Linked DNA regions of Homo sapiens: all the other regions are linked to region 4. The links are contacts of gene promoters, found by promoter capture Hi-C in blood cells and fetal thymus (Javierre and others, 2016). All regions are on one chromosome and are shown on one strand. Each heading gives the region's core, a stretch centred on a gene start or on the middle of the fragment in contact. The rest is flanking DNA. Distances are from core to core; before and after follow the strand shown. Region 1 overlaps SNX29 (sorting nexin 29). Region 2 has its middle 460 kb from the start of ERCC4. Region 3 has its middle 56 kb from the start of ERCC4. Region 4 holds the start of SHISA9 (shisa family member 9).

What was found. The method cuts DNA at HindIII sites, captures the fragments that hold promoters and counts their contacts. A CHiCAGO score of 5 or more calls a contact.
Region 1: a fragment that was not itself captured here is called in contact with the fragment with the promoter of SHISA9 in region 4 in 1 of 17 cell types (neutrophils); the score reaches 5.7 in neutrophils.
Region 2: a contact is called between a fragment that was not itself captured here and the fragment with the promoter of SHISA9 in region 4, in 3 of 17 cell types (M1 macrophages, M2 macrophages and M0 macrophages). The highest score is 7.1, in M1 macrophages.
Region 3: a contact is called between a fragment that was not itself captured here and the fragment with the promoter of SHISA9 in region 4, in 1 of 17 cell types (endothelial precursors). The highest score is 5.1, in endothelial precursors.

Annotation. Positions count from the first base shown.
Region 1 is chr16:12,330,062-12,336,846 of GRCh38, forward strand. All of the region lies in intron 15 of SNX29 (sorting nexin 29), which reads left to right. Among named protein-coding and RNA genes, the nearest start is that of SNX29-AS2, 39 kb to the right of the region's middle. RefSeq lists an enhancer at 2,186-2,686. The HindIII fragment of the contact is 3,677 bases long and covers 2,491-6,167 here.
Region 2 is chr16:13,457,010-13,463,952 of GRCh38, forward strand. It overlaps a transcript of SHISA9 not described here and the pseudogene TMF1P1. Among named protein-coding and RNA genes, the nearest start is that of ERCC4, 460 kb to the right of the region's middle. RefSeq lists an enhancer at 2,510-3,011. The HindIII fragment of the contact is 3,984 bases long and covers 2,889-6,872 here.
Region 3 is chr16:13,861,010-13,867,958 of GRCh38, forward strand. No RefSeq gene overlaps it. Among named protein-coding and RNA genes, the nearest start is that of ERCC4, 56 kb to the right of the region's middle. RefSeq lists an enhancer at 5,083-5,377. The HindIII fragment of the contact is 750 bases long and covers 3,284-4,033 here.
Region 4 is chr16:12,896,374-12,903,888 of GRCh38, forward strand. It overlaps SHISA9 (shisa family member 9), which reads left to right and starts at 5,225. Exons shown (of 5, transcript NM_001145204.3): 1 at 5,225-6,254. The coding sequence starts at 5,692. The HindIII fragment of the contact is 3,823 bases long and covers 3,506-7,328 here.

The DNA of each region.
Region 1 (6,785 bases), core at 3,079-5,578, 570 kb before region 4:
GACCCATTGCAGAATGTTGTTTTGAGAATTAAATAATTTACAGCTTAAGTATTAGTCACTTTTGTTGTTGTTGCGGGAGGCTCAGGATCAGTGATGTGAAACAGTTGGCCTGGTGCCTGGGACAGAGATGTGCTCAGGAAATGGTGGTCCCCTTGTGGCCTTGAGTAAACGACTTAACCTCTCTGTGCCTGTTTCCTCACCTGGCGACCAGCCTGACCAACATGGCGAAACCCCATTTCCAGTAAAAATAGAGAAATTAGCCAAGCATGGTGGCGGACGCCTCTAATCCCAGCTACTCGGGAGGCTGAGGCAGGAGAATCGCATGAACCCAGGAGGCAGAGGTTGCAGTGAGCTGAGATCACACCACGGCACTCCAGCCTGAAATGGGCTTGACGGTCATAAGTAATGATAGTTAACACTCACGCAATGCATCTGTGAGCCACGCTTTCACTGCGAACTGTTTAATCCTCCCGACAGCTCTGGACGACAGGTGGTCACCATTGTCACCTTTTTACAGAATATGGAAACTGAGTCCCAGTGGGTTGAAATAGTAGCCTGAGGTGACATCTTTGCAGGCAGCGGAGCCAGGCGGCTGGACCCCAGAGCCCTGGTTCTTAACCAGCACGCGAGTCCTGGCGGCGCTTGTGGCAGGTTTCAGGGCTGAGGGTGGCATCCTTGCTCCCAGAAAATCACTTCAGATATTTTTAGGCCTGGATTCTATTTGGTCACTCAGCAGCCCAGTGTAGGTCTGGCGGATGGAGGAGTTTGGGTGCAGCTTCACGTTCAGATGGAAAAGCTGGTCTTCCCTGCACTTGCCTGCAAAGGCTCCTGGGGCAGAGCCCTGACACAGAATGTGGTTGGCCACTCCAGGCATGCTAGCCCCCTGGCTTATAGGCTGCAGAAGGCTTCCTTGACTGTTGTCCACACACTGGGAGCAATTCAGTTTCTCATCTTCTTTGGGCCTCTGTAGCCAACTACAGTTCCTTGCTTCAGAGCCTGTGTCTGTGTTTGGAAGGGGGCTGTGGATTGCACCCCATGGGCTCCTACCTTGAATCCTCTGCTGGTATGAGCTTGGCAGGCCTGACTGGCCCTTCTCCAGAGAGAGCTTTGGCCTCAGCTGCTGAGCCCAACTTTCCAGGCTGCTGGGCTTGGCTGCCCGGTTTCACTCCTAGAAACTCCTACACAGAGATCATGAGATTTACAGGACAGAGCCTTCTCTACGTGCTCCAAGTGGGTCCCTTGGTCATGCATTTCTTGGGCCTAGCTTGGTACCAGAAAAAGACACAGAAGCTGTCTAAACTTTGATTTAATTTTTATTCATTTTTACCTGGTCTTATTCCAAAAAGCATTTGAAGCAGCATAGCGTACGTATAGGTGCTGAGAGCATGAGGTGTTGTATCTGACACACTGTGTCATTGTGGGCATGTTCCTTAATGTCTCTGAGCCTCAGTTTCCCCACCTGTGAAATGAGAACACAGAAGACCTGTTCCAGAATTTTTTTGTTTTTGAGATGAAGTCTCACTCTGTTGCCCAGGCTGGAGTGCAGTGGCAGCGATCTTGGCTCACTGCAGCCTCTGCCTCCTGGGTTCATGCAAATCTCCTGCCTCAGTCTCTGAAGTAGCTGGGACTACAGGCGCCCGCCTCCACACCTGGCTAACTTTTGTATTTTTAGTAGAGATGTCGTTTCACCATGTTGGCCAGGCTGGTCTTGAACTCCTGACCTCAGGTGATCTGCCTGCCTCAGCCTCCCAATGTGCTGGGATTACAAGTGTGAGCCACCATGCCTGGCCAGAATATTGTTTTAAGAATTAAACAATTTGGCCAAGCACAGTGAATGCCCCAGGAACCTTAGCAGGCAAGTGGTGGCGCACGCCTGTAGTCCCAGCTACTTGGGAGGCTGACACAGGAGGATCGCTTGAACCTAGTAGGTGGAGCCTGCAGTGAGCCAAGATCATGCCACTGCACTGGAGCCTGGGTGACAGAGCGAAACTCCATCTCAAAAAAATAATAATAATAAAGAAATAATTTACAATGTGAGCATTACTTACTTTTGCTGTTACTGATGCTGTTATTAACATTATTACTATTATCCTCATCCTAGAAGAAAATTGATGGTCAGGGAAAATGAACTTTCACCTGACTCAGAGCCAGGTGTGCGTGCGGTGTGTGCACTTGCGTCCTTGTGTGTGTTTGTGTGTGTGTGCACGGGCATATGCATGCACAAGTGCGTGTCTTCAGCTCGTTGCCAAATGGTTGCATCTGGCTTTCCCCTGCATGAAGCTCCGTCATTTTCCATAGTTTCTGAGCAAATTAACTTTGGCATCTAGCTGGGTTGCTCATTTGCTAGTCGTGCCTGTTAGGAAAGGCTTGTTAAAGCTGTGTTATTGGTGGCGTTTTAAAAATGTGTTACTCTCTTTGTGCGCCTTTTGCCTGTTAAAGTGATGACTCTATCCTCCCCCGTCCTCGTCATATTGAAGGCCATGATCACAAAGCTTGAGGAAGACCCAGTGCTGCATGGTGGAGTGGTTGTGAGCTCCCCCGAGGTCCATGGGCAGGTGCTTTTGACGCTCAAGAACCCCGTCCTTAGGCCCACCTTCCAGGTCCACCTGCATCCCAGCCCCTGGCCGCCACCAGGGTTGGGCACCTCTGTCTTTCTCTTATCCTCCCAGCCTGATCTCTAGCACTTCCCCATTCCTGCCCTTGGTTCTTCTGGCCTCTGGTCTCCTCGTCAGTCCTCACGGTCCTGTCTGCTCCTCTTTCATTTCGTCTTGGCTGCTGTTGCCCGCCTGCTTCGTCACTCCATGTGCCCTCGTCCTTCAAGCCTCACCTCCAAGCTCACTTCTCTCCTGGGCCCGCTTTGAGACCCTCATGGCCACCCCTGCTCGTGCGGTTAGTGTGCATGTACAGACGCTCCGCAGGCAGTATTTCAGAGGGGAGGAAATGGAAGAAGGGAGGAAAGAATGAAGGGAATGGAGTATTTAGCATCCTGGATATTTAGCAGTGTGCATTTGTTCATTCACAAATGTTTTGCAGGCAATCAGTTAATTTTTTTTTTTTTTTTTGAGGCAGAGTCTTGTTCTGTTGTCCAGGCTGGAGTGCAGTGGTGCGATCTTGGCTCACTGCAACTTCCGCCTACCAAGTTCAAGTGATTGTCCTGCCTCAGCCTCCCAAGTAACTGGGACTACAGGTGCGTGCCACCATGCCCGGCTAATTTTTGTGTATTTTAGTAGAGATGGGATTTCACCATATTGGTCAGGCTCGTCTTGAACTCCTGACCTCGTGATCTGCCTGCCTCGGCCTCCCAAAGTGTTGGGATTACAGACGTGAGCCACCGCACCTGGCCGCAATCAGTTAATTTTTACAACTCTTAGGATGTTGGTAGAGTTTTCCCTGTTTGAGAGAGAAGAAAGCTGAAGCTCAGAGATTAAGTAATTTGATCAATTACATCTGATCAATGATCAGTATGGGTGTGCTGAATTCAGTGTACCTTTGTTCATTCAACAACATTTATCAAGCACCTGTGATGGGCCTGGTGCTGTCTAGGTGTTGGGCTTGTAGCTGTGATGAAGAGGGTGTGATTTCCTCTTCCCCAGGGCTCCCAGTCCGGACTCTCTAATCTTTTCATGGCTCCTGATAAGAATTTCTTCCCAAGCAGGTGAGAAGGTCTTATTACTTCAGCCATTATCTGTATCTCTCACAGAGCCTATGTCCTGGGGACTGGGCAGGAAGGAGGGTCCTACCCTGTAGGATGGCTGAGGTAGAAAAGGCCATGTTTAGCCAGGTCCATTCCAGTTATTCTCAGAGACCCGAATGGAGAATGACAGGTGTGGCTGCCAGGCAGATGCATCCCGCGTTTCCGTGCCCTGCATTTATCTTTGCCATCTCACTGAAATGAATGTAACCTCATGGGGATGTTCCTTGTCTTCCCCTGTGGCTGATGGGTGTGTTTGTTAAATATCTGGGATGTTTAATTTTTAGACGGCCTTGTAGGGAAGCGAAAACATGGCTCATCCCTTTCAGCTAGACGTAGGGAAACACTTCAAAGACACTGTCACCTCTGAAGCCATCCACTTTAGGTCTTTGAGGTTTTGAGTAAAGACAAGTGCAGCAAAATGACAAATGTTGGTTTAAAAACCTAAGCAGTCTGGAGATCTTTGGGATGGCATGTTTTGAAACAAAGCACACCGCCAAGGAACTCGCTTAGCTTGGGGCAACTTTCACAGCAACTGTTTGTTGGTGGGTCCTTTGGTAGAGAAACATGAGAGACTTTGAGGTCTGGGGCTTCGCTTTTGTGAAGCTCTGTCTTCCTGTGTAGGTGAGTCCCACCTTGGGGAAAAAAATCATCCCCGGGTGCATTCGAATGTTCTTTTGTGTTCGGCACCGTGCAAACCACTTTGCATGAATGATTTCACTTAATCTTGATGCATAAAACAGGGACACAGGGATGCTATTCTGATGACAAAGTATCCTTCCCCGCAAACATTATGGGACCCCTTTAAATCAAAGATAAGAATCTGGCATCCTGGGCTGCATATAGCCCATAGATCTGTTTGATTTGGCTAATTCGGTTTTTAGGATTGAATTTATTGACAATGCTGAACATTCGGGCCATTTCCCATAAAGCTCACTATTTCCAATTTCCCTTGAGAAAATGGAAAGCTCCCACATAGGTGGGTGTGTTCACTTGGGGCTCAGTAGTGGTGGCCCTGTTTTCAAGAGGGCAGTCCTCACCATGTCACCCCATCCCCACCTAGCCTGCTTCTCTCAATTATTTTACCTGCCTGGTCCCTATAGGCATTTGTGTCAGCCCCTTTTGCTTTAAGTTATCAGCCCCAGAGCCTTTTTTTTTTTTTTTTTTTTAAAAAGCAACAGTCTTTCAAATTTGATGTCATACACAAACCTTTGGGCCTGTCATCGACTGAGCATTCCGTCAGCGAATATGCGTCAGAAAACAAACCCTGCCAAGATGCATGTGAGGGGAGGTTGACTGTCGCTTCACTACCGTTCCTGTGGGAAATGACATCATCTGCAGCAGGGGAGCAGGACACTTAGCAGCACTTCCCAGAGTGGTGTCCCAGGACAGAGGGGCTGCAATCTCCAGGAAGGTGGATCATCATCTCGCTATTGTCTTAAATGTCTGAGTTATAGATCTTTGAGGGCCTTGAACTCCAGGACAGCAGGGAGGTAGGGGGAGGAGTCATCCAGACTTGGAAAAGATTCTTTAATTTTACTTGAAGTGAAACTCTTGCTGCTGGGAGTATAAGAATTCATTTCATCAAGCAAAAAAAGCTCAAATCAGTGATGTTTAGTGGTGACTATAAGGCCAGGTGCAGTGGCTCACACCTGTAATCCCAGCACTTTGAGAGGCCAAGATGGAAGGATCTCTTCAGGTCAAGAGTTCAAGACCAGCCTGGGCAACATAGGGAGGACCCCTCCCACCCCATCTCTACAAAACATTAAAAAAATTAGCTGGGCATGGTTGCATGTGCCTGTATTCCCAGCTACTCAGGAGGCTGAGGTGGGAGGATCTCTTGAGCCTAGGCATTTGAGGCTGCAGTGAGCTACGATGGTGCTGCTGCACTCCAGACGGGGTGACGGAGTGAGACCGTGTCAGCGTTGGGGGTTTGGGGGAAGCTGGTGGTCATGATGAGAGCAGCCAATGCTCTTTGCATTTCTTTATGTGCTAGACAGTGTGTTAAGTGCCTTCCCCAGATTATTTCAGTGAATTTTTCACAATAACTCAGTGAACTGGGTACCATAGTTATCCTTCCCGTTTACTAATGAGGACGCCAAGGCCCAGGCAGGATCACCACATGCTCAAGCTCATGTGGCTCATCACTGGCAGGATCAGGATTTGAACCCAGGCAGTTGGACTCCACCTCCACCGCTACCCTCTCCTGCTTCCTGTGGGTCAAGGCACATCCGGGAAGACAGTCTGTCTGGGTCTGTGTTTGTGACAACGGCCCAGCACTTGATATCTTTATGAAACCCTTATTAAATCAAAGAAGAAGAACCAGCTGGCATTTTGGGACATAGAGAAATATAATATTTACATTTTAAATAAATTAGGCCATCACCACAGACCCAGAGACATTGATTATTCTCAGAGTAGCTAACAGGAGGTTGAAATGGCTTCATATTGCGGGTCTTCCAGCCTGTAGGGAGAAAGCTTTGGTTTGGCGCTCACTGTAACACAGTTAAAGCCAAGGTATTCAGAATAGACTCTCTGCTCAGCATCCTGCGTTGACACAGAAGCCGTAAATAAATTTGATGGCAGAGCAGTTCTTGGCAAGAATTTAACAACAAATCTTGACATGAAACTGTGTCCCTGCTGCCCTGTGTCTGTCACCGTGTTGTTGAGATTGGCCTGGACGTGTTGGCACGTTTCACTGGATGGTTTGTGTTGCAGTCATGCCCATAGCTTAAAATTTTTTCCCCTCAGAGAAAAGATATTGGAATACTGTGTTTTCTCTTTACTCAGGGTTTGCATTTGGAGTGGTGAAATTTGCACTTCATTGTATATTCTGAAGGGTTGGCAAGTGACAAGTCACCTGTCCTTCCATTTTAGAGATGGAACATCAAGGTATGAGAGAACTCTGTTGGCTGAGTACAGTAGCTCATGCTTGTAATCCCAGCACTTTGGGAGGCCGAAGCAGGAGGATCGCTTGAGTCCAGGAGTTGGAGACCATACTGGCCAACATGGTGAAACTCCGTCTCTACTAAAATTGAAAAAAATTAGCCAGGTGTGGTGATGTGTACCTGTAATCCCAGCTACGCAGAAGGCT
Region 2 (6,943 bases), core at 3,631-6,130, 560 kb after region 4:
GTAACAGCTTTTGGTGGCCAGGCACAGTGGCTCACGCCCATAATCCCAGCACTTTGGGAGGCCAAGGCGGGCGGATCACCTGAAGTCAGGAGTTTGAGACCAGCCTGACCAATGTGGAGAAACCCTGTCTCTACTAAAAATACAAAATTAGCCAGGTGTGGTGGCACATGCCTGTAAACTCAGCTACTCAGGAGGCTGAGGCAGGAAAGTCGTTTGAACCCGGGAGGCAGAGGTTGCAGTGAGCCAAGATCGCACCATTGCACTCCAGCCTGGGCAACAAGAGTGAAACTCTATCAAAAACAAACAAACAAACAGCTTTTGGTGAGTTCTGTGAGTCCTAGGTAATTATCAAAACTCAGGGTGCTTTTGCTCCCCTCTCTTGAACTTCCAGTTCAGAAGTGAGAGTAGTCTTGCCTGGACTGTGTTCCCTCTAACTGTACAGTCATCAGACTCTCACAGCCACATGTCTGCCCCATAGCACCACCTATATAGGAAAATCCCACACACACTTGCAGCTCACAGCCTAAGTTTTGAATGACTCCCTTTAGGCTGATTCTTTATGCAGACGCCAGCTTTGTGTAGCCTTTGACCATTCCACCTTCTGCTTGTTCTCTGTTGTTCTTTCTGTATTACCTAGAGCCATTTTACCATCCGTAAGATTAATCCCACTTGCATTGAGTTTCTTTGCACTGGCTACTCAGCCACCAACAAACACAGTCCCCAGAACTTTCTGTTGCCACCCTTTATGCTTAGGAGTGTCCTCAAACAGGAACTGAAGGCTCAGGTAATTTACGTGAGAAACAAGAAGAAAATTAAATGAATAATCACATATGAGAAATAGTAAATATGGCTAGGACCTCTCTAGGCAAGACCTTAAAAATAATTCTTCCAAAGTAAAATATTTTTCCTTCCTTCCTCCCTTCCTTCCTTCCTTGCTTCCTTCCTTCCTTCCTTTCTTCCTCCCTTCCTTCCTTCCTTTCTTCCTTCCTTCTTCAATTATCTCAATGACAATGTCTGACATGGACTAGAAACTCTGTAAATATTTGCAGTATTGTTCAATGAGTGGATGAACCTATATTGAGCACCTACCATATTGTATACACCATGCTAGGCATTTGGGAAACAGTGAAGGATAACATAGACATTCCAAGTGCGATGTACCAGTCAACCTATCAAACCAAGCAGTATCTGGAGGAAACACAAAGGAGAATAAGAATAACCTCTTATGGACACTGACTGTCATGGGTCACCTTCCTCTTTCAACAAATGTGGCTCTCAGGGGATCATGGGAGATCATAAAAATTATTGAGACTCCACAGGATGAGTCTCGTGATCACTGATTTGGACCAGTGTCTGTATCAGCAAATGGAAGCAAACTTTATGATGCTGTAACGATGGGAGCAGGGTCAAGCATTACTGAAAACCTTCAGTCTCAGATAAAGCGGAGGGAAGGGGAAATTACTCATTTACAGCTAGAAATTGGTAATCTAGAAAAAACTCGATCAACAATGGCTGAAGAACTAGTAAAATTAACAAATCAAAATGATGAACTTGAACAGAAGGTGAAAGAGATACCCAGACTTAGAATCCAGCTAAGAGATTTGGATCAAAGATACAACACTATTATGCAGATGTATGGAGAAAAAGCAGAAGAGGCAGAATAACCTTGATTAGATCTTGAGGATGTAAAAAAAAAATTTATAAAACTCAAATAGATGAACATTTAAGACAGAGGCTCAGTTAACTTGTGAAAATTGAATTCTCGTCAAACTGAATGTAAACATTTAATATCTGAATATTTATTGTGGACTTCCAATAAATTCTCGGGTTTTTTTGTTTTGTTTTGTTTTGTTTTTTGTTTTTTGTTTTTTTTTTAAGACGGAGTTTCGCTCTTGTTTCCCAGGCTGGAGTGCAATGGCGTGATCTCGGCTCACTGCAACCTGCGCTTCTCAGGTTCCAGAGATTCTCCTGCCTCGGCCTCCCAAGGCATGCACCACCACGCCTGGCTAATTTTTGTAATTTTAGCAGAGATGGGGTTTCTCCATGTTGGGTCAAGCTGGTCTCGAACTGCTGACCTCAGGTGAGCCACCCACCTCGGCCTCCCAGAGTGCTGGGATTACAGATGTGAGCCACTGTGCCAGGCCAAATGCTTCTATAGAATGAGAAAAAAATTATTGAAACTCCAAATGAAGATTCCTAGATATTTGTAGGATGTGCCCGTACCTTACAAGTCACGTGCAGCCCTGGTGTAGCCTTGACTTAGTGACAGAGGATTTTGACAAAAACTTTATAAAGCAAACATTCACTCTTCCTCTGGTGACATGGGGGGAGGAGGGTGGTATAGAGATCTCTCAATACCACCTTCCTCCCCTCAAGTCATCATGCACAGGACAAGGGTAGAAGGATACAAAGGGAGTGGTATCAGTAGAAGCAAGATACAGTACTGAATAACTTTTATCTTTTGCCTGGAATGTTCTAGCCTATTTATTTTTAATGCTCTTATTTTTCAGGGGGACCTTATCACCTTTGTTATTCCAAATCAGCCTTAGTCAAATTATTGGGCACTCTAGGACCCACCTCAAAAACAGATATCACTGAAGATTTTTTATCAGATGGGTAAAGTATGCATATCACAGAGAGGGAACTGTGCATTTCTGTTCACCTTTTCCAGCCTGGCTCTTGCTAACAGGAGGCTGTAATTGACCCTGTATATCATGCCTGGAGACCTTAATGGAAGTGTTGTAACACAATTAACTTAGAAGCAAAGGACAAAAGGAAAGGCATCATGCCGTTATCTGGCCATTAGAAGCTACTCTGCCTTGAGATAAGGGGTATGGGAAAAGAAACAAGTGTGTATGAGTCCTGAGATATTTTTATAGTCAGCATCAAGCTTTATATGATTATGAATATTTTTTTAACAGGGACACTCACACTGTCGCCTAGGCTAGAGTGCAGTGGCATGATCTCTGCTCACTACAAACTCTGCCTCCCAGGCTCAAGTGATCCTCCCACCTGAGCCTCCCAAAGTGCTGGGATTACAGACACGAGCCACCACACGCAGCCTATATGGTTATTAGTATTATCCCTAAACATATCCATTTGCATATTCAATGGACAGTGATTGAGTGTCTACTGCATACCCATCAATCCTGGATTCATGGCAAATACCAGAAGAACAAATATCATCCCTGTCCTCTGGGAGATGGGGGTCTATATGATATACAAACAGAACACACACATGCAACCTCAAAATGAGGCTGCTCCATGAACACCTCATGGAGAAGAATGGTATCATCAGGGTCACATCATAATGATATCAAGACTCATTATATATCAGTCATTTACTGTGTGCTGGAAACTTTATGCTCATTTCTCTAATCCTCACAACAAGCCCCCCCGATCCATCATATTAGCTCCACTTTACAGAGGAGGAACCCCAAGATCAGAAGTTATGTGAGTTGACAAATGTCCCACAGTTGGTAAATGCCAGAATCAGGCCTGGCACTCAAGAATGTGTAATTCCTCCAAAGCCCATGAGTTTTCTAGTAGTTTGTGTTTTTAGGGACAACCACAGTGCCTGTCACATATGGATGGATAGGTTCGAGTAGAACTTGTTTGATGCTTAAAAGGATATGATAGAGCTTATCAGTTGGATATCTTAGAACAAGGGTGCTCATGAGGATCCATGGGTCTAACTCTAAAGCAGCCCAAGGTTAGTGAGATTCATATTATGGGCAGAATCTGCCTTCCTTCTCTCTGGTGTGACTTGTCCTAGGTCGACTACAGCTGGTCTGGATTTGTAATGATGCAGAATACTACGGTTAGGTCTTGTGGCAAATCCTGCCCCACATTCAGAGAAACTGGACTTGCCTTCCAGAGTCATCACCTTCTGCCAACCAGCCGCTCAGTATGGCATGAGCACACCCATCCTTGTCCTTCATCGCTCCTTGTTAAAACCACTTTCAGCTTTCTACTTGTGTCTTTTGCTGTCTCAGGCAGTAATCCATTTCTCAACATGTCATTTATCCAATAGACAACATATCAACGAGACAGTTTTGATTTGCTCAAACATCTTTGGCAAATGAAGGTGGCACCCTTGCAGAGATGGCAATAATATTAATAGAAACTCAAGCCTGCAGTTCTGACAGCTCTCCCAACCTGTGCACACTTGCCTCTCTTGGGCAACTCTTAGTGTCCTCAAAGACTGGCTGAGGCACTGTCCTGGTGGCTGAACCCAAGACACCTAGCCCTTCAGGTTTAGTGGTTCTCTAAAGAGTTATAGACTTACAGCCAAGCGCAGTGGCTAACACCTGTAATCCCAGCACTTTGGGAGGCCAAGGCGGGTGGATCACCTGAGCTCAGGAGTTCCAGACCAGCCTGATCAACATGATGAAACTCTGTCTCTGCTAAAAATACAAAATTAGCCGGACGTGGTGGCACAAGCCTGTAAACCCAGCTACTCGTGAGGCTGAGGCTGGGGAATCGCCTGACCCCTGGAGGCAGAAGTTGTAGCGAGCCGAGACTGTGCCATTGCACTCCAGCCTGGGCAACAAGAGCAAAACTCCCTCTCAAAAAAAAAAAAGATTTATAGACTTTCTTTTTTTTTTTTTTTAATTTTTTTTTTTTTTTTGAGACCCTCTGTCACCCAGGCTAGAGTGCAGTGGCATGATCTCGGCTCACTGCAAGCTCCGCCTCCCAGGTTCACGCCATTCTCCTGCCTCAGCCTCTCGAGTAGCTGGGACCACAGGCGCCCGCCACCACGCCCAGCTAATTTTTTGTATTTTTAGTAGAGACGGGGTTTCACCGTGTTAGCCAGGATGGTCTCGATCTCCTGACCTCGTGATCCGCCCACCTCGGCCTCCCAAAGTGCTGGGATTACAGGCGTGAGCCACCGTGCCCGGCCTAGACTTACTTTCTTAAGGAAGTATTCACCCAGGAAGTATTCACCCATTCAATAAAGAAGAATTGTTGCATACCTAGTATTTTCCAGTCTTATTAATCTATTCATGTAGCACTTTGGGAGGCTGAGGCAGGAGGATCACTTGAGGACAGGAGTTCAAGACCAGGCTGAGCAACATAGTGAGACCCACATCTCTGCTTAAAGAAAAAAAAATAGCTGGGTATGGTGGCATCCACCTGTAGTCCCAGCTACTCAAGAGCCTGAGGTGGGAGGATTATTCGAGCCCAGGAGTTCAAGATGAGCCTGGGCAACATGGTGAGACCCCTACCTCTACCAAAAAAAAAAATTCTTTAAAAATAAATAAATAGAGTCAAACCACTTATTTAATCTCATTCAGGTTGGAGAAGGAAGAAAAAGTAATTCAGACAAAAGAAACAGCATGTATAAAGGTAAAAAAAGTTCAGGAAACTAACAGATCACTCAATACAGAGGCCTGAAGAAAACAGGTGTGAGAGATGAGGGTGAAGGATTAGGTGAGGCCTAGATTTCAGAGGATATTATGTCTCGTTAATGAGCTTAATTTCATTCTATTGTTCTGGGACCATCTAAGGTACAGGCAAAACTGCAATGTAGGCTGGGTGCTGTGGCTCACACCTGTAATCCCAGCACTTTGGGAGGCAGAGGCAGGCAGATGGCTTTGAGGTCACGAGTTCGAAACCAGCCTGGCCAACATGGTAAAACCCTGTCTGTACTAAAAATATAAAAAAGTTGGGCAGGCACAGTGGCTCACACGTGTAATCGTAGCAGTTTAGGAGGCCGAGGCGGGGGGATCACCTGAAGTCAGAAGTTCGAGACCAGCCTGGCCAACATGGTGAAACCGCGTCTCTACTAAAAACACAAAAATTAGCCAGGCGTGGTGGCGGGCGCCAGTAATCCTAGCTACTCAGGAGGCCGAGGCAGGAGAATCACTTGAACCCGGGAGGCAGAGGTTGCAGGGAGCCGAGATCGCACCATTGCACTCCAGCCTGAGCGACAGAGGGAGACTCCATCTTAAAAAATAAATAAATAAATAAATAAAAAATAAAAATACAAAAAAGTTAGCTGGGTGTGGTGGCACATGCCTGTGGTCCCAGCTACCAGGGAGGCTGAGGTGGGAGGATCACTTGAGCCTGGGGGGGGAAGGTTGCAGTGAGCTGTGATAGTGCCATTGCACTCTGTTTTGTCTGGGTGACAGAGTGAGACCCTGTCTCAAAAAACAAACAAAAAACCCTGCAGTGTAGAAAGTTCACTATAGCTTTCATGTGAAGGATAGATTGGGAAGAAAGAGCATGGCATGACCCGTGAGGAAGCTATTGCAATAGTTCAATCCTGAGGAAAGTGAGGATGGGAACTAAGTAGCAGGTGTGGAGAGAGAGAGGACCATGTGGGCAGGAGAGGCAGCGTGCAGGTGGAATCAGCAGTACTTGGAGAAAGAGTTCTTGAAAGTTGTGGAACACAGAGAGGAGTCTGGAAAGATTCCTGGGACTGTTGTGGCTGGAGGGCTTCACCTACTCTGAAGAGTTGCTCGGGAGCTCTGTTGCCTTCTCAGTTGCAGAAATGAAGGAATTAAACGTCACCTATTGAGAGTGATAATCTTGATCTTGGCTTGGTGCTTCTGGTAGCCAAGGTCTAAAAGAAGGAAAAAATAGCATTTGTAAGTCATGAATAGGTACAAACCAGGAAGCTCTGTTGCCTTAAAGAAAGAGCTTCCTTAGCAGATTCTTTATTTCATCATTTCCAGTTTGGCAGCGCCCTCATGGTTGTGGCTGGGACAGGACTGCTGGCTGCTCAGGAAATATCGAGCAAATGGGCTAATCAGCAGGCAAAGAATTGATTCCCGTGTCACATCCCTTCCCCTTAGGCCACAAGTCTACAAAATTGCCAAGTGGCAGAGGCTTCTGAATCCCTGCCGTTGGCTCCCTGGAATTGCAGAAGCTTGTTAATATTGACTTTCATCTAATTGCTTCACTATTTAGTTGGCAGGATTGTTCTTTAAAAATTTTT
Region 3 (6,949 bases), core at 2,409-4,908, 960 kb after region 4:
GTATCCCACAATTGCCTGATTTTGTCCTCATTTTTTAGCTGATTGAAGTCAATTACTCTCAACCATGGGTTGTGAGTTGTTTTGGCTCCCAAGGGACATTTGGCAATGTCTCAAGACAGTTTTTGATTGTCACATTGCGGTGGGGAGACCTCAATGCATGGGACGGCATTGATTTACCACAAACAATTATCTGATCCCCAGATGTCAATAGTGCCAAGATTGGCAAACCCTCATGTATGTCATTTAGAACCACGTCTAGAAGCTGACCCTAAAACAGGGTAAATATCCGCAGTCAGGTCAGAGGCCGAGCCACATAATAGACAACTTCAACATCACTGGCAATCAAGCAAATTAAAATGAAGGCCCACTTTCAGCATGTTGCAGTAATGAAGATGTTTGAGATATGCTGGCTAGGGTACAGGAAGACCAACATGAGCCATGATGCTAGCCCATTGCTAGAGAACGTATAATTGGTCTGACTTTTCCAGAAAATAACTGAGCAATAGATAGCAAGCTCTTTACAATGCTCATACCCTTTGACCAAGTAATACCACTGCTAGCAATACACCCTAAAGAAAAAATCAAGGAAGCAAAAACTCAAAGCAACCTAAATGCCCAACAGTGAGGGAGCGACAACAAACTAAAATACGGAGCAAGGCATTTTAAATAAAATTTACAAATTTTTAATGACACAAGGAGGTACTTACAACACCATGCTCAGAGAAAAGAGCAGAAATAAATTAAGTATTCAAATATTCATCCATAAAAAATGAAATTGTGTCTTTTGCAGCAACATGGATGGAGCTGGAGGCTATTATCTTAAGCAAAATGGCTCAGACACAGACAGATACTGCATGTTCTCACTTATAAGTGGGAGCTAAATAACGTGTACACATGGATGCAGAGTGTGGAATGATAGACAACAAAGACTCAGCAGGGTGGGGGGAATGATGAGAAATTATTTAATGGGTACAATGTACATTATTCAGGTGATGGATACCCTAAAAGTTCTGACTTCACCATTACACAACCTATGCATGCAACGAAATTATACTTGTACTTCATAAGTTTATATAAATACAAATAATAAATATGATAAATAAGCATTTTAAAAATAATTAAGTGTTCTTCATGATCTCGACTATGTAAAAACTAATAAAATGTGTTCTGTGGAATCATATAAAAATTCTTTGGCCACCTTTAAACTTTGCCAAACTTTTAAATATTTTTATTTGACTAAAATAGTCCATATGAGTTAATATTTTCAGTCACAAATTGTAAAACACCCAACTCAAACTTCCGTTGCCATGATGGGAATTTGTTGACTTATGTAATGGAAAAGTCAAAAAGTAGGTTGAGTTACAGTCAAAGCATAATCCAGACACAACAATACAGTCACCAAGGACCTGGTTTCTATCTGTCTCAGGGCTCTGCCTTCCAGAAGTTGGCTTCATCCTCTGACTCCAAGCAGTGATCCTTGATCATCCCTCCCACACCACTCCACACACACACACACACACACACACACAAACACACAGACACATGCTCTCTGTCTCATGATAGCTAAACAACAGAAGCTATTCCACATCTCACATTCTCATTCTCAAACGCATCTTACAAAATAAAGAAAGAGTCTTCTGACAACTTGAGCACAAGTCTGAAAATTCACTTTTCCCATTGGCCTGAATTATATAATGTGCCCATCCCTGACCCAGTCACTGTGGCCAATGGTGCACAACTTGCTAATTGCCTTGCACCACCCACTGTAGCAAGAATGTCAACTCCATCCAAATCATGTGGCTGAAAATGGCTGTATTAATCCATTCTCACATGGCTATAAAGAATACCACCGAGACTGGGTAATTTATGAAGGAAAGAGATTTAATGGACTCACAGTTCTGCATGGTGAGGAGGCCTCAAGAAACTTACAATCACGGCAAAAGACAAAGCAGGCACATCTTACATGGCAGCAGGCGAGAGAGAGAATGTGCAGGAAGTGGAGAGGGAAGAGCCCCTTATAAAACCATCAGATCTGATGAGAACTTATTCACTATCACAAGAACAGTATGGGGGAATCCACCCCTATAACCCAATCACCTCCAACTGGGTCCCTCCCTTGACATATGGGGATTATAGGGATTACAATTCTAGAGGAGATTTGGATTGCAACACAGCCAAACCACATCAATGGCAGAGGGTGAATTCCACTAAGCAAAGTCAAGGTCCTTTCTGTTGTGGCGCAAAGTGGATGCTGGAGAGTCCTCCAGTAAATGTCCCTAGGACGTGTCTTGCTAGGGAGGAGCTATCTAGCCATGGACTACATTTCCCAGCCTATCTTGTGTTTAGGTTGGACACAGGACTAGTTCTCGCTAGTAGAATGAAAATGAAAGTGGAATTAGAGTACTCTGAGGCCCTAGAGGAGAGAGGAACAGAAGATAGAAGGAGGCTTCCTCCCCGTTTCACTGCACAGAAAGCTACCTGCCCATTGGAAATATCCACATTAAACCTATTTGAATAAGCCATTGATATTTATGGGGGTTTTTTTGTTATAGCAGCTAACATCACCCTAATACATACCTTACAAGTGTATATTACTTTTACATAAACATAATAATAATTGTGGTGGTTAAATTTATGTGTCATCTTCAGTGAGCCATGAGATGGCCAGATTAAACATTGTTTCTGGGGGTGTCTGTGATTGCTTCTGGATGGGACTGGCATTTGAATCAGTGAGCTCAGTAAGGTAGATTTCCCTCCCCAAAGTGGTTGAGCATCATTCAATCCACTGACGACCTGAGTAGAACAAAAGGCAGGGGAAGCAGGAATTTGCCCTTTTTTTCCCTGCCTCACTGTTTGAGCTGGGACATCTCATTTCATCTCTTCCTCCCGTTAGATTGGGATTTATTCCATCAGCTCCTCTGGTTCTCAGGCTTCAAACTCAGACTGAATTGCACCACTGGTTTCCCTGAGCCTCCAGCTTGCAGAAAATAGGTTGTGGGACCTCCCTACCTCCATAATAGCATAAACCAATTCCTCCTTATTTATACTAACCAATGGTAGATACTATTGGTTCTATTGCTTCTATTTCTCTGGAGAACCCTGACTAATACAATAATAATTTTTTTAAATGGGTCATGTTTCAGGGGAAAAAGTCATAAGTTTGTTGTCCCTAATTTGTGTATGCATGATAGGAAGACATAAAAGAAGTCATAATTAATAGGCAAGCTAAAATAAAGCCAAGAAGCTTTGAATAGAGCCTGGTATTAAATATACCACTTGTACAAGCTTACGGGAGAGGAGATTTCAAATGCTCCTGTCAGAAGTTTCTCAGATCAAAGAACTTGATTGACATCTAGAAGATTAAAGGCTATCTGATCCACAGATAAAACAATCAATCTCCTAGGCTAGAGATTTATATAAAAACAATTATGCCTCCATTTTTTTAATGGCTGTATTCCTGGAAGAGCCACTTATTCCTTTTCTTTTACCTTGTATTCAATAACTATTGAGTGTTATTGAATGTGCCGTGTTTGGTTGAGTGCAAAAGATCCAATGAGAATGAGTTCTAGTTCTTTCAAAGAATTTATAGGCTTGGGACTTGGGTGGACTAATACACAGGAAATTATCAAAAGGGAAAGAGAGAGAAGTGCTATGATTGGCTGATTTAAAAACCCATAGAAAGGACACTCAACCTACTCTTGATGGCATAGCAGATACAATCTTGATGGTATAGCAGATTAACAAGACTAATCTTGTTCATCCTCACCAAATATTCTATATTGCCCCCTATATTTTCCACCTTTCTCTGCAGTTACAATGGAGTCATGTGACTAATTCTGACCAAGAGACCGTGAGCAGAAGTAACACATGTCACTTCCTGGTCAAAGTCATTAGGAGCTGTTCTGCTTCCTCTTCCTCTCTCCCCTCTTCTCTCTTCAGAGAGCTTGAAGTCCACGTGTTTCAGATGCCCCAACAGCAGCATGGCGGTATAGGGCTGCTCAACCTACATGGCACTTTATGTGAGTGAGAAATAAGCTTTATTGTGTTTAACTTTTGGGATTTCAGGTTTGGCCCGTCATGCAACTGGTGTAATTATCCTGATACAAGAGGTCAGAGAATGCTTCCTGAAAAGGAGAACTGAAAGGGTAGAAGCTTAAATGAAATTAGGCAGGCAGAGATATGGCTGCAAAGAGTAGTCCGTGAAGAGGAAACAGTGTCTGCCAAGCTTTGAAGACGGTTGCTTGTAAATAGAGTTTGGGTTTAAAGGGGTCCTTTTTATTATTATTATTAATTTCCCTTGGATATTTACAACTTTACTCATATCCATTTCTTCATATTCAATGGCAGGAATTTCTAGCTTTTAATTGAAGCTTCTCAGCTTATTGTTCCCCATCTTCTCCTTCTAGCAGCTAATGACCAGTAAATAAATCCACAAGGGCCCAGCCTAGCTGCTGTTTAAACAAACATTTTATTTAAACACTCTGCAAAGAAGTCCTGCACTCCAGCCTAGGCGACAGAGTGAGACTCTGTCTCAAAAAAAAAAAAACAAAACAAAGGTGTTAGAGTGTTCATTGGAACATGTTTTCTAATAGCAAAACACAGGGGAAAAGCATGAATGCTCATCATGGGGGTGAGTGGTTAAACAAAATGTGGTTCAGTCATACAATAGTGAGAATTACACACAGTGCTTACAAATAATGAACCAGGTCTCTCTTATCACATGGAGCAATCTCAAAAACATTGAGTGAGAAAAACAAGTTGTAGAATCACACACACACACACACACACACACGCATACACATACAAAATGATACCATTCACAAAATTATTAAAATCCATTAAACTGTATATTGTTGATGTATTAGCCACAAGTTTAAAAACATAGGTCAGGAGCATTTACACCATCTTCATGAAAGTGATTGCTTCTTATGAATGAAGAAAGGAACAGAGTGGAAGCGGCTGTCCTACTTTGGGCTCTTCTGAAAACAGAGCCTGAAACAAGGAGTCTGATGCAAGTAGTTTATTGGGGTGGCAATTGCAGGAAGATAGTAAGGATGCAGGGAAAGAGAGACGGGAAGGGGAGTAAGTCAATAAAGTGTGTATTAATCTAGGGCAATTGGGACTCAATCTCAGCAGGAACCTCCTGAATAGCCATGCCTCAGAATCAATCCACTAAGGGACAAGGCAGCTGGGATAATTATTTTCCAACTCCCTTCTCTCATTGATCGAGGATTGACCTTGGGGCATTGCGCCTCCAGTCCTTTGGGATTGCCCTGTGGACGGGCTAAGCAAGCTCTCTCGCCACTAGAGGGAACCCTGGGGCAGAGAAACGTGTGCTCCAGGGCGTAAGCAGTCAGCGTGCCTGGAAACCATCCACCATAGCTGCAAGAGGCCTAAAGAGATTGGCCAAGGGATGTGGCATGGGATACTAATCATATCTGCTACATGGGAAAAACTGTATCAGCAATGTTTTGCTTTATTTTTAAGAAACATCTGAAGTAAATAAAATAAAATGTTAATATTTGTCAATTCTACCCAGTGGTTGCATGGGTGGCTGCTATATTATTCTCTGTTCCTTTTTGCATTTTGTCTTTAAATTTTACAAATTACATTCACAATGTTGTAAAACCACCGCCACTGTTTTGCTTTATTTTTAAGAAACATCTGAAGTAAATAAAATAAAATTGTTAATATTTGTCAATTCTACCCAGTGGTTGCATGGGTGACTGCTATATTATTCTCTGTTCCTTTTTGTATTTTTTGTTTAAATTTTACTAATTACATTCACAGTGTTGTAAAACCATCACCACTGTCTATTTCCAAAATTTCACCACCCTAAAGAGAGAGCAATAAGCAATAACTCCTTATGCTCCTCTCCCTTGGCCTTTGGTAACTTCTAATCTACCTTCTGTCTCTATAAATTTCCCTATTCTAGATATTTCATACAAGTAGAATCACACAATATTTGTCCTTTTTGTTGGCCTATATCACTTAGCATAATGCTTTCAAAGTCAATCCATGTTGTAACATGTATCAGAACTTTCTTTCTTTTTATGGCTGAATAATACCCCAGCGTGTGTGTGTGTGTGTGTGTGTGTGTGTGTGTGTGTACCACATTTTGTTTATTTATTCATCTGTTGATGAACTCTTGGGTTGTTTTCACCTTTTGGCTATTGTGAATAATGCTACAATAAACATTGCCATGGAAGTAACTATTGGAGTCCGTGTTTCCAATTTTTTGTTGTATACCTAGGAACAGAATTGCTAGGTCATATGGTAACTCTATGTTTCATTTTTTGAGGAACCACTATACTCCTTTCCATAGCATCTAAACCGTCCTACATTCCAACCAGCGCTTCATAAGGGTTCCAATTTCTCCCCATCCTCGCTAACACTATCTTCTCTTTGTTGTTGTTGTTGTTATAGCCATCCTAGTAGGTATGAAGGGATATTTCACTGTGGTTTTGGGTTGCATGTCCTTAATGATGATATTGAACACCTTTTCATCTACTTATTGGCCATTTATGTATCTTCCTTGGAGAAATGCCTATTCAAGCTTTCTGTATTCTTAAACCTTTTCAAAATAAAAATGTAAGGTCCTATAGCATGCAGTGGAGCCTACTATTTGAAAACAACTTCTGCTTTTTCTAGTGAAGTTACTTTCTTGATTTTTCTAACAATCAAAATTTTTCTCTACTTTGTCTCTCAGCAGATTTCAGTTTCAACTGCATCATCCATTCCATCAATCAGCAAGTTTGCTAAGAGAGCTTTCGTGAAGCTACTTTGCAACATCTAAGTGACAAGCAAATCCAACTTTAGGCAAAGGTCCAATAAGTCACACTCCAGGAGATAGCAACAAAAGTAAAATCAAGTAGTGATGACTTGTCAACCTATCCTTTATTCTGGACTAAAGGGATGTGGGCTTTTTCTTTTGGTTTTAAGTAGGAAA
Region 4 (7,515 bases), core at 3,975-6,474:
ATTTTGAGATCATGGAGGGCAAAGCCCTTGTCTCAGTCATCTATCTTCCTGGACATCAGCTCATTGCCTGGCATCTTGTCATCCTTCAGGTTTACTATAGTAAGAGTGACCATTTATTAAGCACTGCTGAGGTTCTACTCGCTGGCCACCCACTTTATGCAAAGTATCAATCATCTGTAACATCCCTGGGTATAGGCACCCTTCTTATTCCCGTTTTCCAGATGAGAAAACTAAGCTTGGAGAGATTAAGTGATTTATTCAAAGTCATAGATATCCTATGAGAAAGAGCCAGAACTTAAACACAGCCATGACTCTGGGTTTCAGTCAATTTTGCCCCTCAGGGGACATTTGGCAACGTCTAGCAGCATTTTTGTTTGTCACAACCAGGGGGTGCTATTGGCATCTAATGGGTAGAGTACAGGGATGCTGTTAAATGTCCTACAATGAACAAGACAGCACAAGACTTTCTCACCCACATGTTCCATACAGGGGCAGATTCCCAAAAAGTACCCACCTATGGTAGTGACTGTATTTACTGACTTGATGTGTTCGGAGGAAATCGACTTTTTTTCTTTGCAGAGCAAAATGAACCCGGATGATTCTTTTCTCCTTTTAATATTTTTCAAAGGCTCAGGAAACAGGCTGGGGCAATTTTCCAGGGAGTAGCGCTTCACCTCCCGCCCACCCCAACACAGAATTATCCACTCCAAAATGTCTATAGTGCTGAGATTGAGAAACCCTGGATTGAGGGAAAACCAAAGCCTGTGCTTCCTAAACTTCAGTTTTTAGTACCAGACACTTCACATTGTTTTCTTTATTTTTATTTCTTTATTTGTAAATACTATAATGTCTTTTTTCCATAATTGACTTTACATTGATAGACTTAAAATTATTAACTATACACCTTAAACATTTATTCCAGTGAATCCATGTTTGATGCATTATTATTTTCTTTCGAATACACATTGAAATATCTGTAAAACCATTGATATAAAAAAGATCTTTGTTGGGGTACCACCAAAAATCATCTTCCCTACCACCACCAGTCCCGGGGAACCAAACTTCATACCTAGTTCACTTTTTTTTTTGAGATGGAGTATCCTTCTGTTGCCCAGGCTGGAGTGCAGGGGTGTGATCTTGGCTCGCTGCAACCTCTGCCTCCCAGGTTCAAGGAATTCTTCTTCCTCAGCCTCTCTAATAGCTGGGATTACAGGCATGCACCACCACGCCTGGCTAACTTTTGTATTTTTAGTAGAGATGGGGTTTCACAATATTGGCCAGGCTGGTCTTGAACTCCTGACCTCATGATCCGCCCACCTCAGCCTCCCAAAGTGTTGGGATTACAGGTGTGAGCCACCGCATCTGGCTCAGACCTAGCTCACTTCTCTAAGGCTTCCCTCATCTCTTCAGGAGAGAATCAAATACATCAAATCAGCTTATTGCTTGAAACTGGCAAGGTGCTAGCTACATTTCACTTATGTTTTTTTCTCTTTTTTTTTTTTTCTCCTCAAGGCTAACAGCTGCTTAAAAACCTCTTTGAAACCCTAAAAGCCACTTGAGGAGGACAATTAACAAACCACTCATTTTGGTGAGGGCCAGAGCACATATAATTCAATTTGTTGAGTTGCTTATGAACAGTGGTTGCAATGTCCTGGTAACCAAACATCCTTTGTTATTAAGACATGGTTCCCTTCTCTAATTGTTAGGGAGTACAATTGCATTCTTTTTGCTGTGTGTACTGCAGTCTGACATAATTAAGGCTAGAGCAAATGAGATTCTTCTTTAGATATTAAAAGTGCCTGTGTTGTAAATAATAATGTCACCCTCTCTTTCATAGAAAGCACTTTCATTAAGAGCTGCATTTTAATATCAATGCGTTTGCATGAATTCATTTGGGTCATGGTGGGGGGACATTGCTGATGATTTTTAATCTTCCATGAGCTCACCAGGTGTTCCAATTAGGTCATTTATAATGCCTACCCCTCCCTGCCAGGAGCCCTGAAATAAATACTTTCTCACTCACATTTTCCATACAGGTGTTTGTTCCCAGTAAGTACCCACCCATGGTAGTAACTGTATTTACTGACTTGATATGCTCAGAGGAAATTGACTTTTTTCTTTGCAGAGTAAAATGAACCCAGAGGATTCTTCTCTCTTTTTAATATTTTTCAAAGGCTTGGGAAACAGGCTGGGGCAATATACCAGGGAGTGGTGGCCACTACAGCAGACAGGAACAGGAAGGGAATCTGGTTTGGGGAAAGCTCATGATGGGATAGGAGTTTTAAGGTTTAGAATCATTGGCACATAAGCCACACAGGGTGGCTTTCTGCTTCCTTCCCCAGCACAAGCTCTGCGCTCTTCTTGACACAAACAGGGGGCAGTCTCTGTTAATTAAAGCGAGGAGCAGCAGTCACAGTGAGCCTCCTCTGAGGACCGGAGTCAAATGTCCAGGTGACATGCAATATTTTACAGAGATTGGAAGCAGATTCTGAAATGGACTTTTCTGTCCAGATTTTGTCTCTTTTCTCTGAAGTATTTTTTTAATCAAATTTACAAGTACCTTAAAACTCCCAACCCTTGCAGAAAGAACCCTGTGACCTACTGTTCTCCCATGTCCCTGGTTAAACTCTGCCCTAATACCTGCTGAAGTGGAGTCGGACACAGAGTGGAGGAAGAGGCCGGGGTTAGGAGTTGGGCGTCTAAATCCAGCCCTGGTGGGGTCATTGCTGTCCATGTGATCTCCCACAAAGGTCTTAACCTCTGAGCCACAGCTTCCTGGAACATAGGAAGCCCGCTGGAGGGTCCCTTTCCATTTCCAATGTAGTATATAGAAAACTCCCACCCTTTATATACATAATGACAGCAGATACTCCATCATCCATGCCCTAAGTGTTCCTTTCCTCTTTTGGTTTAAGACAGAGTCTTGCATAAATTAATTAATACAACCCATGCATTTTTTTGAGTGTTTACCATGCTTAGAACTGTACCCCGGGGCTGCACCCTGCAGCCCCGCACAACCCCAAAGGCTCAAATCCCTGGAGTTGCGCACAGGGCTGGAGGGCGCAGCCATGGACCCGCAAGGCAGCTCCGTATGCCTGGGTTCTAGGGGCTGGGGACATGGTATGGGAGTCGAGGCCCTCTCCATTACACAGTTCACATCTCAGTGCAGGCAAACAGACGAAAACGCAAATACATAATATAGTAGGAGGTAGACAGAAAGTTTGGAGGCCTATTTCATGTAGTGGCTGGAGGGCAGTTTCTGGACTCAAATTTCTTGGGTCAAATGTCAATTCTGGCACTCATTTGGCAGAGCTACTTGGGCAACTGGTTTAACTGCTTTGGGGCTCATTCTCTCCCTCTGTTGTGTGGGCCTGGTACTATTACCTAAGGGAGAGAGAGTTACATGAAACCAGTCACTCGGTGGTTCAGCAAATATTTCCAGACTGTCTGCTATACGCTGGGCACTGCTCTAAGCTTTCTTGAGGAGCTGCTTTTAGAAAAAGCAAGCTTAGTGAGTATGTTGCAGGCACTGAATAAATGTCAGCTCTCATTAGCTCTCACACACCAGTGCTTGTGTTTGTAGGACTCACAAGGTGGTGGTGGGCGTGGGTTGCCAGTCATGACAGACTTTCCATACTCTCCTATTTTGGGGATTCTATTATAATGAATCTGGTGAATCTGGATTAAACGTGTTCATACCTTCCCCAGATGGGTTTGGAATATAATACTCCTGGGTATGCCCTGTCAATGTCTTGCTGTGTGTTTGCAAATCTTTTTTGAAACATCAAAATGTGACTTTTTTTTTCAAAGAGAAGGGGCGATTAGCCAAACTTCTCATTTGGAGAAAACTTGCAACAGAGTCCCAATAAATCCTCCCACCCTTTCTCAATTCAGGGGACCCTAGTAAACCATTTTACATGTCGCCCAACTTTTCGTTCTCTGAAGATGCCCTGAGAAGCCCTTGACTGCAGCCAAGTGGAGAGGAGGGTTGTGGAAACATTATCTCCTTGCAAATCGCCTAGCAGCCTGCAAAGTGTATACTTAGTTAATGCAATTAAAAAACAAAACGCCGGGGCGTGGGGAGATCTAAATTTGGTGTAGCAGCTTTGGTGCAAATCCTGTTTTGGGGCTACTGGAGTCAAATTCAAGCAGAGGAGAGAAAGAGGTGGGAGAAATGAGAGAGGGCCTCCGGGGAGCTGGAATTCGCTAGGAGAGAGAGGGCAGATTTGGAAACACAGAGGAGACGGGAGGCTGGAAGCTGAGGAAGCAAGGCAGAGCTCTGCAGCCCCCGGTGAGGATTTCCGGGGGGATCCGTGGGGACAGGGGCCAGCCAGCTCCAGAGACCGATGCGCGGGCTCCAGGTCCGGGAGGGTGGCTGAGGCTGGGTGCCCAGGCCTTGCGCTGCGCCAGATCCGGGAGCGCAGAGGCGGCGCCGCGGTGTTCCCTCCTGTGGAGCGCAGAAAACGCTGCGGGGGCGAAGAGGGACAGAAAGCGGCAGGTTCGAGAGGCTGGGGGACTTCCAAGGAAAGACCTTCCAGGACACGCCATAGCCTCGGCCTTGTTCGGCTGTCCCCTCTTACCCCCGACCTTCTTTGATTCGTTCATCCCGAGCCCCTCTCCCCCGGAGGGTGCTTATCCCTGGCTCAGGGGCTTGCCACCTGTCCTTCCCAGCTCCGCCTGGGTCCTTGCTTGGGCCCAGAGAGTTGAGCCATGCGGGTTGCGCTCAGGGCTGGAGGGCGCAGCCGGGAAGGGCAAGGAGGCCCCGCACGCCTGGGAGGGGCGATCCTGACCAGACTGCACCCAGTCTGTCTTGGAGTGAAAGCCATTTAGTCTGTCCCCATCCTCTCCGAGTCATCCTTCCCCTGATGCACAGATTTCGGCCGCCGCTCCTGCACACGCACCGGTGAAAAAGCTACGAGCTGAGCCGCCTCTGCGCTCTGGACAGGGCTGAGCCGCGCCTCCTACCCAGAGAGGGCGCGGGAGGTCCTGCCGCGGTTTTCCACCTGCCTGGAAATCCGAGCGGCTCCTCTAGCCTCGGCTGCTGCCGAGCTCGCTCCTCCCCGTCCGCTCGCCTGGCTCAGCTCTGCACGCCCCCCAGCTAGCTCCCGCTCTAGTCACCTCTTCCCCGCGCCCCCGCCCCTCTAGAGCTCGCGCCCGCCCCCCCCCACCCGCGCCTCCTCTGCCCGCCCTCCTCCCCCTCCCCCTTCCCTCCTGCCCTCCCTTCATTCCACAAGTGTCGCTTCGCTCTCTTCAGCGCACTTGGCGAGCTGGTGAGGTGAGAGGGATACTGCGAGAGGGCTAGGGGCGGCCAGTCCGGGGCTGCCGGCCAAGGCTAGGCGCTGCCAGCCCGATTCTCCTCTGCTCTCCACCCCCGCCTCACCCAGTGGCCGGCCGGACCTGCACCCCGCGCTTGACCCCGCTCATCCTCCCCCCGCCCGGCCGGGCGCGCTCCTCCCCGGCCGGCCCCTCGGCGCGCGGCGCGCTGGAGGCGAACGCGGGCTGAGGCGAACGCGGGCTGAGCCGAGCGCAGTGGCCGCCGACCACCGAGCGCCCCGCGCCGCTCCCTGCATGTGCGGCCCGCGGCGGCTCGCAGCTCCCGGCAGCAGCCTCGGCAGCTTCGGCCGCGCCTCGAGAGGCGGCCGCAGAGGCTCCAGCGGCGGCCGAGCGGCCGAGCCCGGGCTGGGAGACACCATGCGCCGCGTCCTTCGGCTGCTCCTCGGTTGCTTCCTCACCGAGCTGTGCGCCCGCGTGTGCCGGGCGCAGGAGCGAGCGGGACACGGGCAGCTGGCGCAACTGGGCGGCGTGTTGCTGCTGGCGGGGGGCAACCGCTCCGGGGCCGCCTCCGGAGAGGCCAGCGAGGGCGCTGAGGCATCGGACGCGCCCCCGACCCGGGCGCCCACGCCGGACTTCTGCCGGGGCTACTTCGATGTCATGGGCCAGTGGGACCCGCCGTTCAACTGCAGCTCGGGCGACTTCATCTTCTGCTGCGGGACTTGTGGCTTCCGGTTCTGCTGCACGTTTAAGAAGCGGCGACTGAACCAAAGCACCTGCACCAACTACGACACGCCGCTCTGGCTCAACACCGGCAAGCCCCCCGCCCGCAAGGACGACCCCTTGCACGACCCCACCAAGGACAAGACCAACCTGATCGTCTACATCATCTGCGGGGTGGTGGCCGTCATGGTGCTCGTGGGCATCTTCACCAAGCTGGGGCTGGAGAAAGCGCACCGGCCCCAAAGGGAGCACATGTCCAGGTGGGCTGCCTCCCCTTCGCCCTCCCCTCGGGGCTTCGCTCTCCCTGCTCTCTCCTCCCCACCTTCCCCCAGGCAATGGCGCTCCCCACGGTCCCCGCTCCCCGCATCCCAGCCTCTCCGCTGGGGGATGTCACCGGGAAGCCAACTTCGGCTTGGAACACGGAGAAGGGGCGCTGGGCTCAGCACAGGTGTGGGTCTGAGCGTGTTCGTGTGTGTGTGAGCGTGTGTGTGTGTGTGTGTGACTCTGCTCCCTCACCCTCTGGCCGCCTCCTCCCGCTGGTGACTGAGGCGGACTTGAGACACGTAGCCTGGGAGCCCGTGGCCCCGAAATCTTCGGGTTTGGGGAGAGGGTCCATGGCACCCCTCGGATTCCAGGTGCTAGCTTTTTGGTAAACAGGGGCAGGCGAGCCCGAAAGGGGAGGGGGGCGTGTGTGAGCCCGAGCGCGCGTGTGTGAAGGAGGGAGGGTCAGAGTGAGTGCCGCCTGCAACTCGTACGACTCGCGAAAAGGAGACGAGGGAGGTGGAGTGAGGGGAGGGCGAGAACAAAAGCCTTGCTTGGAGCGGCCGCCTCGCTTTCCCAGAGCTTCGCCGTCCCTGGATTTGGGACCTCAGCTGCCCCCGCCCCTTTACCCACCTCATCCCTTTCTCTGGCCACCACTTCTCCCTGCCCGGGGCCGTGGCCATCGCTGCAGATTGAGCCCCTTGCCCTGGCTGGCGTGGACTCCGGGGGCCCGAGCCCCCTCCTCGCGCGCCCTCACTTCCAAGCACCCTGATTTCGTCAACTTTCGGGTTTGCCTTGTTCATTATGCAAGCCCCAGCACCAGCTAGTTCCAGCAGATGGGAGAAGGCTTTGGGGGATTAATGGAGCTATTTGCCTTTTGCTTTTTTTAAATTTTTTTTATTTTAAGTGTCTAAATCGATTCGCAAACTCCGTAACTTTGGAGGCGGAGGACGCAGCCACTAGGAGCACTAAGCCCCCGGCCGCGGGAGAGGCTGGGGGTTGGCGTGAGGTCCGGGCGGGCGGGGTGGAAGGAGTGACTAGCGGCCTGCGAACAGCTGGATGGTTGGGGCATAAGCTTTAACTGTCCCCTTTCAGAGTCTGGGCAACGAAGTCGCTGTATTTTTCTCTACCCTCTCCCCACCCCTTCTTCCGCGCCCCCTCTGCCGGGGGCCTGTGTGTGTGCGCGCGTGTGTGCACGCGCTCCGTGTGATGCCTAAAAAATCTGAACAAAGAGACCCACCAAAAATAGGCAAAGGAACA